Regions from separate parts of the Homo sapiens genome. Here region 1 is linked to region 2. The links are contacts of gene promoters, found by promoter capture Hi-C in human tissues and cell types (Jung and others, 2019). All regions are on one chromosome and are shown on one strand. Each heading gives the region's core, a stretch centred on a gene start or on the middle of the fragment in contact. The rest is flanking DNA. Distances are from core to core; before and after follow the strand shown.

Region 1 (6,243 bases), core at 1,818-4,317, 1.6 Mb before region 2:
ATAGCTCCTGGTGTCTCCATTTTGGGATGAGGCATCTGAGGCCTGAAGAGGTCAAGCAGCTTGCCCAAAGTCACCTACTAGCAGCCAGGATTTAAGCTGAGGTCAGTCTAACTGTGCACATAACGGCTAACCAGTCTCCTGAGCCTCAACAGATCCCTCCCTATAAGCCCAGCCAGATTAGCCTTTCCATGTTTCCCTCATATGTTAGCCTGGTGGATAGAAAATGGCACGTCCTAATTATTTTAGTTTTGAATTTGTGATTAACAAGTTTGAACATGTTTTCCAAATGTTTACCATCAGTATGTGACTTTCATATTAATTCCTGAATCATTTATTTATTTAACCACCTTTATTTAATCCCTGACACCTTCTGAGGTATTTGCATAACTTCTCTACATTAAAGACAAAAATATTAAATCCTTTGTCAATTTGTCATCGTTTTAAAATAGTTCTTTTTCATTTCCCTTCTTCAGTTTTAATGGCTTCCATTTTCACATTTCTAGTCACTCTCTGTAGACTTTTTCCTACACTTGATCATACCCAAGAGACCATGAAGCCATGAGCTTTTCCTTCGTAATTTCTCCACACATCATCATCCCTTCGTAGATGGAATAAGTACTGTGTGTACTCATGTTTCTCTAAGCCTTTGGTGGTGGGCGGAATAAGGTACTTGTTTTATACTTAGATTATCCACACGAATTTTAGGCTGAAAGCTCTTCATTGTCATTGTTACTAACTATGCTATTTGGGAATGTGCAGAGGGGCTCAGTCTTCATTGAATGTCAAAATTACCTGAGGAAGCTCTAAAAAAACTACAAAAGTTACCAATGCCCTGGCCCCATTCCAGACCAATTAAATCAGAATCTCTGCCCAATCAGCATGATTTTTTTAATTTCCCACAAAAAACAACGAACCTCCCAAAGGGATTCGAGTGTGCAGCCGAGGGTGAAGACCACAGCTAGGGAACCACAGCTAGAGACTGTCAGAGTAACGCCAGCGGATTTTGACACCTTTTTTTTTCACTTTGCATTATTTGAATGTGGTTTTTAAAAATAATAATAACAGTCTGTATCACTTACAGACACGACCAAAGGACCCAATTACTAAGCCATCAAATAAGTCATCAAATATGACCTCGAAACTGAGCTTGATGTTCAGCTTCAAGAAAAAGCTGTCACCTTCCCACACAGCAGCTGACCTAAGAAATTCCAGGGCAATACCCCCAGAGCGTTACAGACAAAAGAACAATTATTTCCTTCTCTCTCCTCTGGTCTACCTCGTCTTGGTGGGCAAATTACCAAATAAAGTCACCTTCCAATGGTGCGGGGATAAATGTGCTGCTTGTGTATTACACCTTTATTTCCTTTCCAAATATTTAATTTCTGGTCTAGCTCTCTGCTCGTGAGTTATCTTTGCTGGGCATATTTTTAAAGACATAGTCTACTTTTTTTTTTCTTCAAGCAAATGCTGAATTTTCAAAAAGAAGGAAGATGATGACGTTTTTAGTAGGAAAGCTGTGCGGCCCAAACATGGGCTCCAGGTGACAGGGAAAGCCTTGCGGTCCCAACGCGGCTTCCCCTCACTACGTGTGATTACTATTTACAAACCACCTCTCTCTAAAAGTAAGTGCCCTTTGATAAGCTAATACTGGCGCTAAAATGCAAAGAGTGTTCGGCGGGATCAGTCCCTGACAAATTGTGATCAGGCAGATTACATAACCTCCCCGGGGTCCTTGCAATTTTAAAGGAGGGGAGCGCAGGAGATGAAGGTTGGGTGGATCAAGGATCGCACAAAATGTAATCCTCTGAGCCGCTTTTCCAAAATTCACAACGCCTTTCTCCTCCAGCTTCTGCTTGGAGAGGAGGGGTCGTTTGAACTCCATACACAGACACTAAAACTTCGTATTCTGACCAAGAAAAGGGCGCGAGAGGGGAAAGACAGGTGACTCCCACCGTCCCTCCTACCCAAAGGGGTTTGCGATGCTTGCCCGACCCCTCTGGGAGGGGCGTGTGCGAAGGACCTAGGGCCTGGGGCTCCCCGGTGCAGGGGTCTAGATGGAGACCTGGAATCTGTATTTGTCACCGTTTTCCCCACCGAGTTCGGAGAGCAAGCCAGTTGTGCAATCACGGTATGAGCTGAGCGCCTCTTAAGCCAGCGCACCGGACAAACGCCCGGGGTCCGGGGCCCGGGGCAAAAGCGCCCAGCCCGGCCCCTCCCAGGCGGCGGCGGCGGCGGCGGCGGCTTCCCAGTCACCCTGGAGGGAAAACGCGCCGAGGGGAGACGCGCGGAGGGCTCGCCCGGGACCGGGCTGCAGGCCGCGCCCCCACCGCCTTCTCCGCGGTTCCTCACCCGCCGCACATCCACGCAGGTTCAACCCCAGCGCGGGGCGAACGCGCGTCCCGGCCCCAGGCTTCCCACCCGCTGAAGCCAATGGGTCGCACGGCTCCGGCGCCACGTCCTCGGGGGCGAGGCCCTCAGGGAAGGGACCCTGCTCTAAGTCCCTCCGAACAGTGGACTGGGTGCAGGGGGAGTCCGAGCCCCCCCGATCCTCGGCTGGCCCGCCTCCTGGCTGCCAGTTTGTGGGGTCCCGGCGTCCCGATCCGCGGCCTCTGTTTAGACGGAAGGCGCCAGGACGCAGGCTCCGCTGGGGTGGGCGCCGCCTGGGCGCCCAGGTTCCACTCCGCCGCGGTCCGAACCGCCCCCTCCCCCGCCTCCGCGGGGCCCGGCCGCAGCACCCCGAAGTCCGGCCTCCGGTCTGGGGCGCGGGACCGCGAAGTCGCAGCAACAGCCCAGGCCACGGGGGCGGTTCCGGCCCGGCCTAGCGCTCGGCGCCGCGCACGGAGATAGGGGCGGCGCCGCGGAGAGGAGACGCTGCGCTCGTAGCCGGCCGGGCGGCGGTAGGAGGTGTGCACTCACCTCGTGGCGGCGCGGCCTGGGCATCGCGCCCCGAAGAGCCGCCGGGGGCCAGCAGCGCGGCGCTCAGCACGGACGCGGCCAGCAGCAGCGCGGCCAGCGCCCTGCCCGCCCCGCTCATGCCCGCCGCCCGCTCGGCCGCCCTTGCCTGCCCGCTGCGCCCCGCCCTGCGCTGCTCCGCCGCGGACGCCCGCGCGCCCGTCATCGCCCCCTCCGCTGCCGTCACCGCCGCCTGAGTCACCGCGGGAGGCGGAGGCGCCCGGGAGCCGCGGGCGGGGGAACCTAGGGGCTGGGCCGGGCCATGCTAGGCCCTGCCTTGAGGGAGCTGGCCAGGAAAGAAGCCGAGGCTCTGCGCCCCTGCGTTGGGAGTGTTTGTCTTCGGGAGGAAAAACAGCCGGAAGAGAGGCCCCTGCAGGCCAGGAGCCTTCTTCCCTCGCCCCACCTTCTCCAGCCGCATTCTGCCAAACTCCCGCCCCCGCCGGCCACCCTCCGCACGGGTGTTAGAGCCCTCGGTCCCTGTTTTGGAAAACGCCTCAATAAGCAAGACTGCAAAGTCCCTGCCCCCAAGGCGTTTATTACCCAGAGGGAGAGGCACGACTTAGAAGCCACCAAGCGGCCCCACCTCTTGAAAGAGCCCCCGGCCAGGCTGACGAAGTGGAAGGGAGCAGGTCGAGGAGTGTGCACACCCATTCTTGGCTGTATGCCGGGAGACACTATCGCAGGTATAAGGGACAGGTACAGTAATACCTATAGCAGAGGTGCTTGTAATTGCAAAACCTTGTCAACAAGCTGAATGTCCGCCAGCGAGAAAACAAACTGCCCCACAGCAGGGGAAGTGCTCTACAGCTTCCCGCATCCACATGGATAAATCTCAAAACACAAGGCTGGGGAAAATGCAAATTGCAGAATGCCTTTTTAATATATAAAGCAAAACAATAATGTATGTTGTTTAGGGACATCCATATATGTAATAAAAATACAAAGGCACACATGAAAATGTTGCGGGACTTTTCCTTAGTTCAGCTAAAGACGGTGGAGGTCCTTGTCACACGCCAGGAAAGATTAGGCTCGCAGACAATTTGAAGGGTAAGGCAGGGTTTTATTGGGTGTAAAGGAAGAAAAAGGGGAACAGGGACTCAGCAGAGCCAGAGTTCTCCTAGTTGTAGGCTTCCCACCTCACAGATTAAATCCCAGGTTCTCCCGAGGAAGAGGAGGGCCAGGCTCCTCCCAGCTGCAAACTGAGGAGCGAACTTCTGTGGCTCCACCCCAGAGCAGTGCACAGGCCAGTTGGAGTTTTACCAGGGAACCCTTCCCATCTGGCTCATTCCTCGCTCTAAAGAAGTCTATCTAACTGCCACTAGGATAAGAATAGGGACAAAGACAGATCTTAACTGCTTCCTGCTGATAGGGGGCACTGTTTCGGGAAAATGGCAATCAGATCTCCCTCAGAGGCCTATCTAAGGGTGCCCAGCAGAAGGGGCCATGGTCCGAGCTTCCAGTAGCATGACCGTTTGATGTCCTGAAGGCAAGAAGAGACAAACTGGGTTATTAAACACATATGGCCGGGCACAGTGGCTCACGCCTGTAATCCCAGCACTTTGGGAGGCCAAGGCAGGTGGATCACGAGGTCAAGAAATCGAGACCATCCTGGCCAACATGGTGAAACCCTGTCACTACTAAAAATACAAAAAATTAGCCGGGCGTCATGGCAAGTACCTGTAGTCCCAGCTACTTGGGAGGCTGAGGCAGGAGAATCACTTGAATCCGGGAGGCAGAGTTTGCAGTGAGCCAAGATTATGCCACTGCACTCCAGCCTGGCAGGTCAGGAGTTCAAGACCAGCCTGGCCAACATGGTGAAACCCTGTCTCTACTAAAAATACAAAAATTAGCCAGCAGTGGTGGTGCCTGCCTGTACTCCCAGCTACTTAGGAGGTTGAGGCAGGAGAATCGTTTGAACGGAGGTTGCAGTGAGCCAAGACCACATCACTGCACTCCAGCCTGGGCGACAGAGTGAGACCCTGTCTCAAAAAAAAAAAGAAAAGAAAAGAAACAAGGGGAGGGATAAGGACAGCTCAAAAATCCTGAGGCTTTTTACCAATTTGTACACGGAGAAGGGGGCCAAAAGTCCGAATGGTAAACAACTTTACCCTTTTGCTGGCATGTTGGGCTTCTGGGTTCCCTTCCCCTGAAACCAATCCTAAGCCAGCCAGTTTAAGGTTTAGGAAATTAACTCTTTCCAGTTTGGAAAATGCATCTGAGGGGAGTGTCCCATAGTATGGAGACACAATTAGGATTGTCATTGTGAACCGAGGAGGAGAAAGGAAAAAAGAAGGCATTTTTTCAAAGGAATCCGAAGGGTTCCAGATGCATTTGAAAGTGGTGCAGACTGAAGATAAATGGCTACCCACATAGAAAGAGGGGAGCAGGCATCCCTGGTTCTTTTCCTAGCAAATACCTGGGGTACGTGAGGGATAGAAGGAATAGCGTCCTCTTCCATCCTTGCATCCCCATGCAACCTTCGAAAGTGCTACCATGGGTGCCAAAATGGCTTGCATCCATGAAGCAGGGGTCTAGAGGGTGGGAATTATCTCCTCTACCCATGAATGCCCTATCACCCCTGCTGTCAGTAGTCTTGGAGTTCCCTAGACCTCACTTATGCTCAGGGGTTGAGGGGTTGCATGGACTCCTTCTCGTAAGCCAAATGCTAAGGAAAAACTGTGGAACTGAGTCCTCCAACAAGGGAGAGAAAAGGATGTCTTGTGACACACCCAGATAACTGGTGGCTACAGTTATGTTTGGTAGGATTTGGGTGCATGGTGCTTGGCTTTGGTTAGCTCCCTTGGTCTTACTTTCCCAAAAGGAAACCTCTGGATGATGGGCACCCTATTTATTCCCATTGCCTAGCAGAATTTGCAGGATAATTGCTCATAACTAGAATACTAATCCAGATTTTTTTACATTACCCATCCCTCTTGTTCTTTCTGAGCTGCAGCTGGAGATTGCTGGTTGGTTCACAAGCAGGGTCAGTCTAAAAATGCAGGCAAAAATTTAAAAACAACTGAGTTTAGAATTGAATGACAAATTATGGTAAGTTTTGGAACATAATTTTTCTCCAGGCCTCGTTTTTGTTAAAAAAAAAAAAAAGAAAAGAAAGAAAAGAAAAGAAATTATGATAGGACTCAGTTGTTTGCAAAATAGACTTCAGTCTTATACTTGGCCTGATTATTTACATAAAGTGCAGCAAGAATAATTATTTCTACAAAGGCCTTTTGGACTGGCTTTGATGGAACTCTGTTCCACAAGGAATCTCAGATAAGATAAAGCCAAGCC
Region 2 (6,055 bases), core at 1,790-4,289:
AATTACAGTTCACTCATTCTTCTACCCAGACCAAGGGTAACTAAGATATCTGTATTTTAAGGCTAATGAGAATAAAGTTTCCTTTAAGGAATTGTTCTGGCAACAAATCGCTTAAGCATCAAAGTATTACATTCTAAAAGGCAGCAGAGAAAATGAACTTGTTAACAGACAGAACCTATCCTACTCCCAAATTAAAGGGCACAAATGTGTGTGTATTTTTAAAAAATGCTTTAAAATAATACAAAACACTTGCATATTAGTCACTTTCTCTATTATGTTGCCAAGTGTGATGTTCTCACAAAAGGAAAATCAGCTCCAATAGCAGAGCAATCAGTAAAATTTCTAGGGTAAGTAGTAGAGAAACAGAAACCTTTCAATTTTTCATCAAAGCAAGGAAAGTTTAAACCTGTAATTTAAATTTAATCTCAACACACATACACAGACAATCAAAGCTTTTCTAGTGGTTTAAAGCATAAGCTAGTGTTTTAACCCAAACATTTAAAAAGAAAAAAGAAATTCAAAGGCACAATTGAAGAGTGCCATGTAACATTCCATATAGTACTCAGTACCACAAGCAGTTCTGGGCTATACAGAGTCAAAGAGGTAAAAGGACTCCAGAATTTAGAAACATCAATTTCCTGACAAGAATCAGTGGAGCACAGTAACTACATTGTGCTTTTGCACTTAGATTACAAAATAAAGGCTCTGCCACACACAGAGTGGAAGGCTAATGTCTGATTCTGTGTATACACATTTAGCTCAAATATATGAGGTGTAAGTGTTGCTTTAAAACCTTAAAGCAAAGGAATCTTTAATGTCCAAATAATTGTGGTAAAAAAAGAATACTTTATATTCTGATTTTGAAGTACATAAATTGTATGTCATAGTTTCCGTAAGAGGCTTAAAAATAAAACATTTGATTGATTCCATGTATATCTTTTTATTTGATTTATTTTTTGAGACAAGAGTCTTGCTCTGTCGCCCAGGCTGGAGTACAATGGCATGATCTCGGCTCACTGCAACCTCCGCCTCCCAGGTTCAAGAAATTCTTCTACTTCAGCCTCCTGAGTAGCGGGGATTACAGGTGCCCGCCACCATGCCTGACTAATTTTTGTATTTTTAGTAGAGATGGGGTTTCACCATGTTGGCCAAGCTGGTCTTGAATTCCCGACCTCAAGTGATGCACCCGCCACGGCCTCCCAGAGTGCTGGGATTACAGGCGTGAGCCACCGGGCCCAGCCAGATTCCATGTCAATCTTAACATGTAAAACACATCAATTGTGATGTTAAATTATTTTAAAACAACATTCAGTAGCTCTACCCAACTGGCCACTTGCTGAATTTCTACCTCTTCAAACCACTGTAGATAGTTCCACCTATTGTCACGCTCAGTTAACTCATAACATAGTTGACAACATACTGCAGCATTTAAATGGCATTTCAGAAACAAGTCACCTCACCATCTTTTAAAGGCATATTTGATCCATTTGCAATTCAAGAAACATATTTGGGCCATGAAGCTGCCCATGGTTATGTCAAACTGAAGGAAACTATAATGGATCATTGTTGATTTCCCAACCATGGAAATCGGGCAGTGCAACCCACCTCACTGCAAACTGACTGTAAATAACTGCTACACATTTCTCTACACAGACTCATCCACACCCACTTATCCCATGACCAGCATCTCTCAGTCCCACACCCAAGGAATGCCTAATCACCTCTCAGGCCCTCGTCCTCCCTGTCACAGAGGAGAGAGCCACAAAACCTGCTTCCAGCTAACCAGAAATTGATCCCTGAACGGGAAACACAATCTACATAACATGGGTCAAGACCAAAAGAATCTTTGGTTGAATGTACATATGTGGGCACACAAAAACACAGGCAGGCACGCACACACTCCATTACCTCTACAACAAGATACAATGATTTTTTTTTTTTTTTTAAAGTTTTGCTAGGTCTGAAGGGGAAGCAAATCCCATTCTTCCATTTTTGCCTGCAATGTTGCCCAAAGGACCTATATCCTGATGACCATTTTGATATGCAAGACAAAACAGGTGGCTCCCAGTGAATGTGACAAGTTTAAGGCCTTGTTCTGAGACATTTTCCTGTCCAGGCCTATCTAACGCCCGACGTCTTTAAGGTTCCAAGAAAGCCTGAACGCACCGCCTGGCCATGCACCTAATAAACCCTTTCAGCCAAACAGTGCGGCCAGCACAGAGGCAGCAAACACCAGTCACGAGAATGATGATGATTTATCTTGCGCGGAGAGGTAGGAGGATATAGTTTACAACCTGGTGACTGAGACGACCTGGAGCCTCAGGAATTGGCTCCTCATCGCTGCCGACAATAACCCGGGGTGGGGATTTGGGGGAGTGCAGCAGGGGAACACTGCTGGATCCAGATTCCCGGCACCGGGCAACAAAGTTCCATAAGGTCGTCAACCCCGGCGATCGGCCTATATTATTCTTCCTGCTCCAAACACCTGTCTTGCTTAGTGGCTCTCTTCTTACACGTTTGGCCAAGGCCCCTTCTGTGCCTGGACCTCCCCAGAACTGCGGGACCCTCAAAGGCCCGGTTGTCGCCCACACCCTTCCCGTCCCCGGTGAGTCTCTCTCCCTCGCCAGAGCAGGCGTGGGGAGCCAGGTTGCGTACCCGGTTCTCCAGCTCCGCAGGGAACTTGGTCTGGAACTGGCAGCGTGTGCCACTGCTGTAGTCTCGCTGAATGAACACCTTTCCGGACACCGGCGCCTGCTGCGGCCTCATGGCGAGGACAGGACACCCCGCGCTGCGGGGTCGGGGGAACACCAACCGCGAGTCAGAGCCCCGGCCTGGACCCGGGACTCTGACCCGCCAGCCCCTCGCCCCCACCCGCCGCCGAAAACAGCCCAAGGCCTCCTCTGCCCCGCTCCCCTTCACCCATGCTGTCACCGCGGGCCTTAGCTGCCGCCTGGCCCAGGCCCCGCGCCCCCCACAACCCGGTTCGGCCCGGGAAACACAAACCCGCCTCCTCTGCCCTCCAGCTGCTGTCGCACCGCCTTCGCCGTCACTTACGTCCTGCCGCAAAAAGCCTCTTCCCCGCCCCTCAGCTCGGCCTCCTACCTCAGGTCTGGGACCCACCCTCTCCTCCGGCCGTAAAGCCACCCTGCCGAAGCTGCGCGCTGTGGGGCTGGGCCGAGGAAGGGAAATGATGTGGGCGGGGCCAGGGCCGACCCCGCCTTCCGCCCGCGCGGGGATTGTTTCCGGAAGGAGAGAGGCGGGGCGAGCTGTGGGGCTGCGGCCGGGGCGAGCTGTGGGGCTGCGGCCGGCGCGAGCGCGCGGGGGTGTGAGGGGCGGAGTTTCCCGGCTGTGTCACTTCCCTAGTGATTGTGGCAGGTGGTTCCCGATCACTGATTGTGAGGGGTCATTTTCGTTCTTGATTGGACGTCGCAGCTTACGTGTGGGTTATGCCACCCAACTCATACACAAAACAAAAAACAAAACATAAAGAAAAAACAACACCCCCTCCCCAAACCCTCAAACACAAACTGCTCATTGTGTTCAGAAGTAGAAAGCAGGCTCCAAGGATGGATCCATTTGGTCCCTAGACTCTTGAGAAAGGGTCAGGAAGTGAGGACGAAGAACCTGCCTGGGCCCCAGCGTTGGGCGCCCCTGCCCCGACTCTTCTTTGGGGGCGGCGTTCCTCTCACCCCCCATTTCCACCCAGCTCCCATCCACATCCCTCAGGTGACCAAGGGGACAAGTGGTTCCGCCCTCGTTGCCCACTGGCCCTTACTTGACTCAGCATTTCTTTGCAAGGCAGCCAAAGAAACCCCACCTTACCCTTGTCTCCTGCTAATACAACCTGTTAGTACCACTGTCTTTTATATATTTAATATAGTTTAAATATCCTGCCTTTTAAATATGAAAAATTCTCTTACTGTATTTTAAAAACAGCTTTTTCGAGATATAAATGGCATACAATAAACCACACATTTAAAGCAGTGGATTTGATAACTTTGGACATATGAATACACCCATAAACCACTGTCACAATCAAGATAGTAAAGCTCCATTGCCCTGAAAAGGTTCCTCCAGCTCCTGTGTAATCTCTCCCTCCTGCCTCTCCCAGACCCCATTTCCCAGGCACTGATCCACCTTCTGTCACTCAACATTAGTTTCATTTCCTTGAATTTTATATAAATTGAATCATATAGTGTGTACCCCCTTTTTTTGCCTGGCTTCTTTCACATAGACTATTTTGAAGTCCATCTGTTGTTGTGTTATCAATAATTCATTTATTTTTGATGCTGGATAGCTATTCCATTGTATGGCCATCCCACAGTTTGTTTATCCATTCATCTGTTGATGGACATTTGGATTGCTTCCAGTTTTGGGATGTTACAAATAAAGCTGCTATGGACATTCATTTGCAAGTCTTTGCATAGGTGTGTAGACCTTAATGCTTTCATTTCTCTTGGGTACATACCTAGGAGTAGAATGGCTAGATTGTACGGTAAAAACACGTTTAACTTTTTGGCAGACTGACAAACTGTTTTCCAAAGTGGTGACACCATTTTGCATTCCCACCAGAGTTCCAGTTGCTCCACATCTTTGCCAAGACTTGGGTAGTAATATCTTCTGCAGCTATAATTTTCATTTTTCCATGACTAATTATTTTGAACATATTTTCCTGTACTTATTTGCCATCCATGTATCTTCTCTGGTGAAGTGTCTATTTAAAACTTTTGCCCATTTTTTTGTTTGTATTTTATTTTCCTGTTGTTGAGGGGTTTTTTGTTTTATTTTGTTTTGATTTACATCTTTATTGGCTGGGCTTAAGGTCAGTTTTAAATTTTTAAGGCACTTTAATTCTTGGATTTTTGTATGTTTAAAGATGTTTTCCTGAGGCCTTTATACTTGCGTGAGAACTTGGCCGGGCTGTTTTTGAGTTTTGAGTTCTTTATACATTCTGGAGAAAAATCCTTTATCAGATATGTGATTTGCATGCATTTTTCACAGTCTGTGATTTGTCTTTTTACTCTCTTAACACGTTAGGGGTTTGAGGGGATTAGGGTGTGGACCTCTTGGGGAGGGCATTTCTGCCTCCCATAGGTATAGAGTGAAACTCTTCCCTCCCCCCGTATGATTATGCAGTTGTTATTCAGTTGTTTACGTACCATTTGTTGAAAAGACTCTCATTTCTTCACTGAATTGCCTTTGTATCTCTGTTGAAAATCAGTGGGGGCCGGGCGCGGTGGCTCACGCCTGTAATCCCAGCACTTTGAGAGGCCGAGGCGGGCGGATCACGAGGTCAGGAGATCGAGATCATTCTGGCTAACACGGTGAAACCCCGTGTCTACTAAAAATACAAAAAATGAGCCGGGCGCCGTGGCGGGCGCCTATAAGTCCCAGCTACTCGAGAGGCTGAGGCAGGAGAATGGGGTGAACTCGGGAGGCGGAGCTTGCAGTGAGCGGAGATAGTGCCACTGCACTCCGGCCTGGGCTAAAGAGCGAGACTCTGTCTCAAAAAAAAAAAAAAAAAAAAAAAGAAAAAGAAAATCAGTGGTGTGTGTGTGTGTGTGTGTGTCTGTCTGTCTGTCCCTCTGTCTGCCTGTTTTGGACTTTCTATTCCGTTTCATGATCTGATCCTGTTTTGAATTAAATGTCTACTAGTGTTTGTCTCCGAAGTTGATGCTTCCTTACTAACTCAGTAAGATCTCCTAGGAGCTGGTTTTCTACATATTTGTTACTAGGGGTTGAGAACACCCTTAAACAGGTAAAACAGTCTCTACCCTCAAAATTTCAGTCTAATGGAGTGAACGAAGAAAACAATTTTCATACATTGTATATTTGGAGTATTTTCCTGCAGCCCTTGGCCACTGAGACTAGGTGGTAAAACAGACTATTATTATTATTTTTTGAGATGGATCTCACTCTGTCGCCCAGGCTGGAGTTCAGTGGCACGATCTCGGCTCACCACAACCTCCGCCTCCTGGGTTCAAGCCATTCTCCTGCCTCAGCCTCCCGAGTAGCTGGAATTACAGGTGCGTGCCACCACACCCAGCTAATTTTT

The links. Contacts are between HindIII fragments. The study calls those that stand out against the background at their distance.
Region 1: a contact is called between the fragment with the promoter of HGSNAT here and the fragment with the promoter of GOLGA7 in region 2, in 1 of the 25 tissues and cell types used here (aorta).

The regions. Positions count from the first base shown.
Region 1 is chr8:43,137,288-43,143,530 of GRCh38, reverse strand. HGSNAT (heparan-alpha-glucosaminide N-acetyltransferase) reads right to left here and starts at 3,067. Exons shown (of 18, transcript NM_152419.3): 1 at 2,917-3,067. The coding sequence starts at 3,034. RefSeq lists silencers at 2,088-2,467, 2,478-3,267 and an enhancer at 4,111-4,405. The HindIII fragment of the contact is 19,681 bases long and covers 1-6,243 here.
Region 2 is chr8:41,487,566-41,493,620 of GRCh38, reverse strand. GOLGA7 (golgin A7) reads right to left here and starts at 3,039. Exons shown (of 5, transcript NM_001002296.2): 1 at 2,656-3,039. The coding sequence starts at 2,766. RefSeq lists enhancers at 2,409-2,518, 2,569-2,678, 2,969-3,098 and a silencer at 3,149-3,408. The HindIII fragment of the contact is 13,455 bases long and covers 1-6,055 here.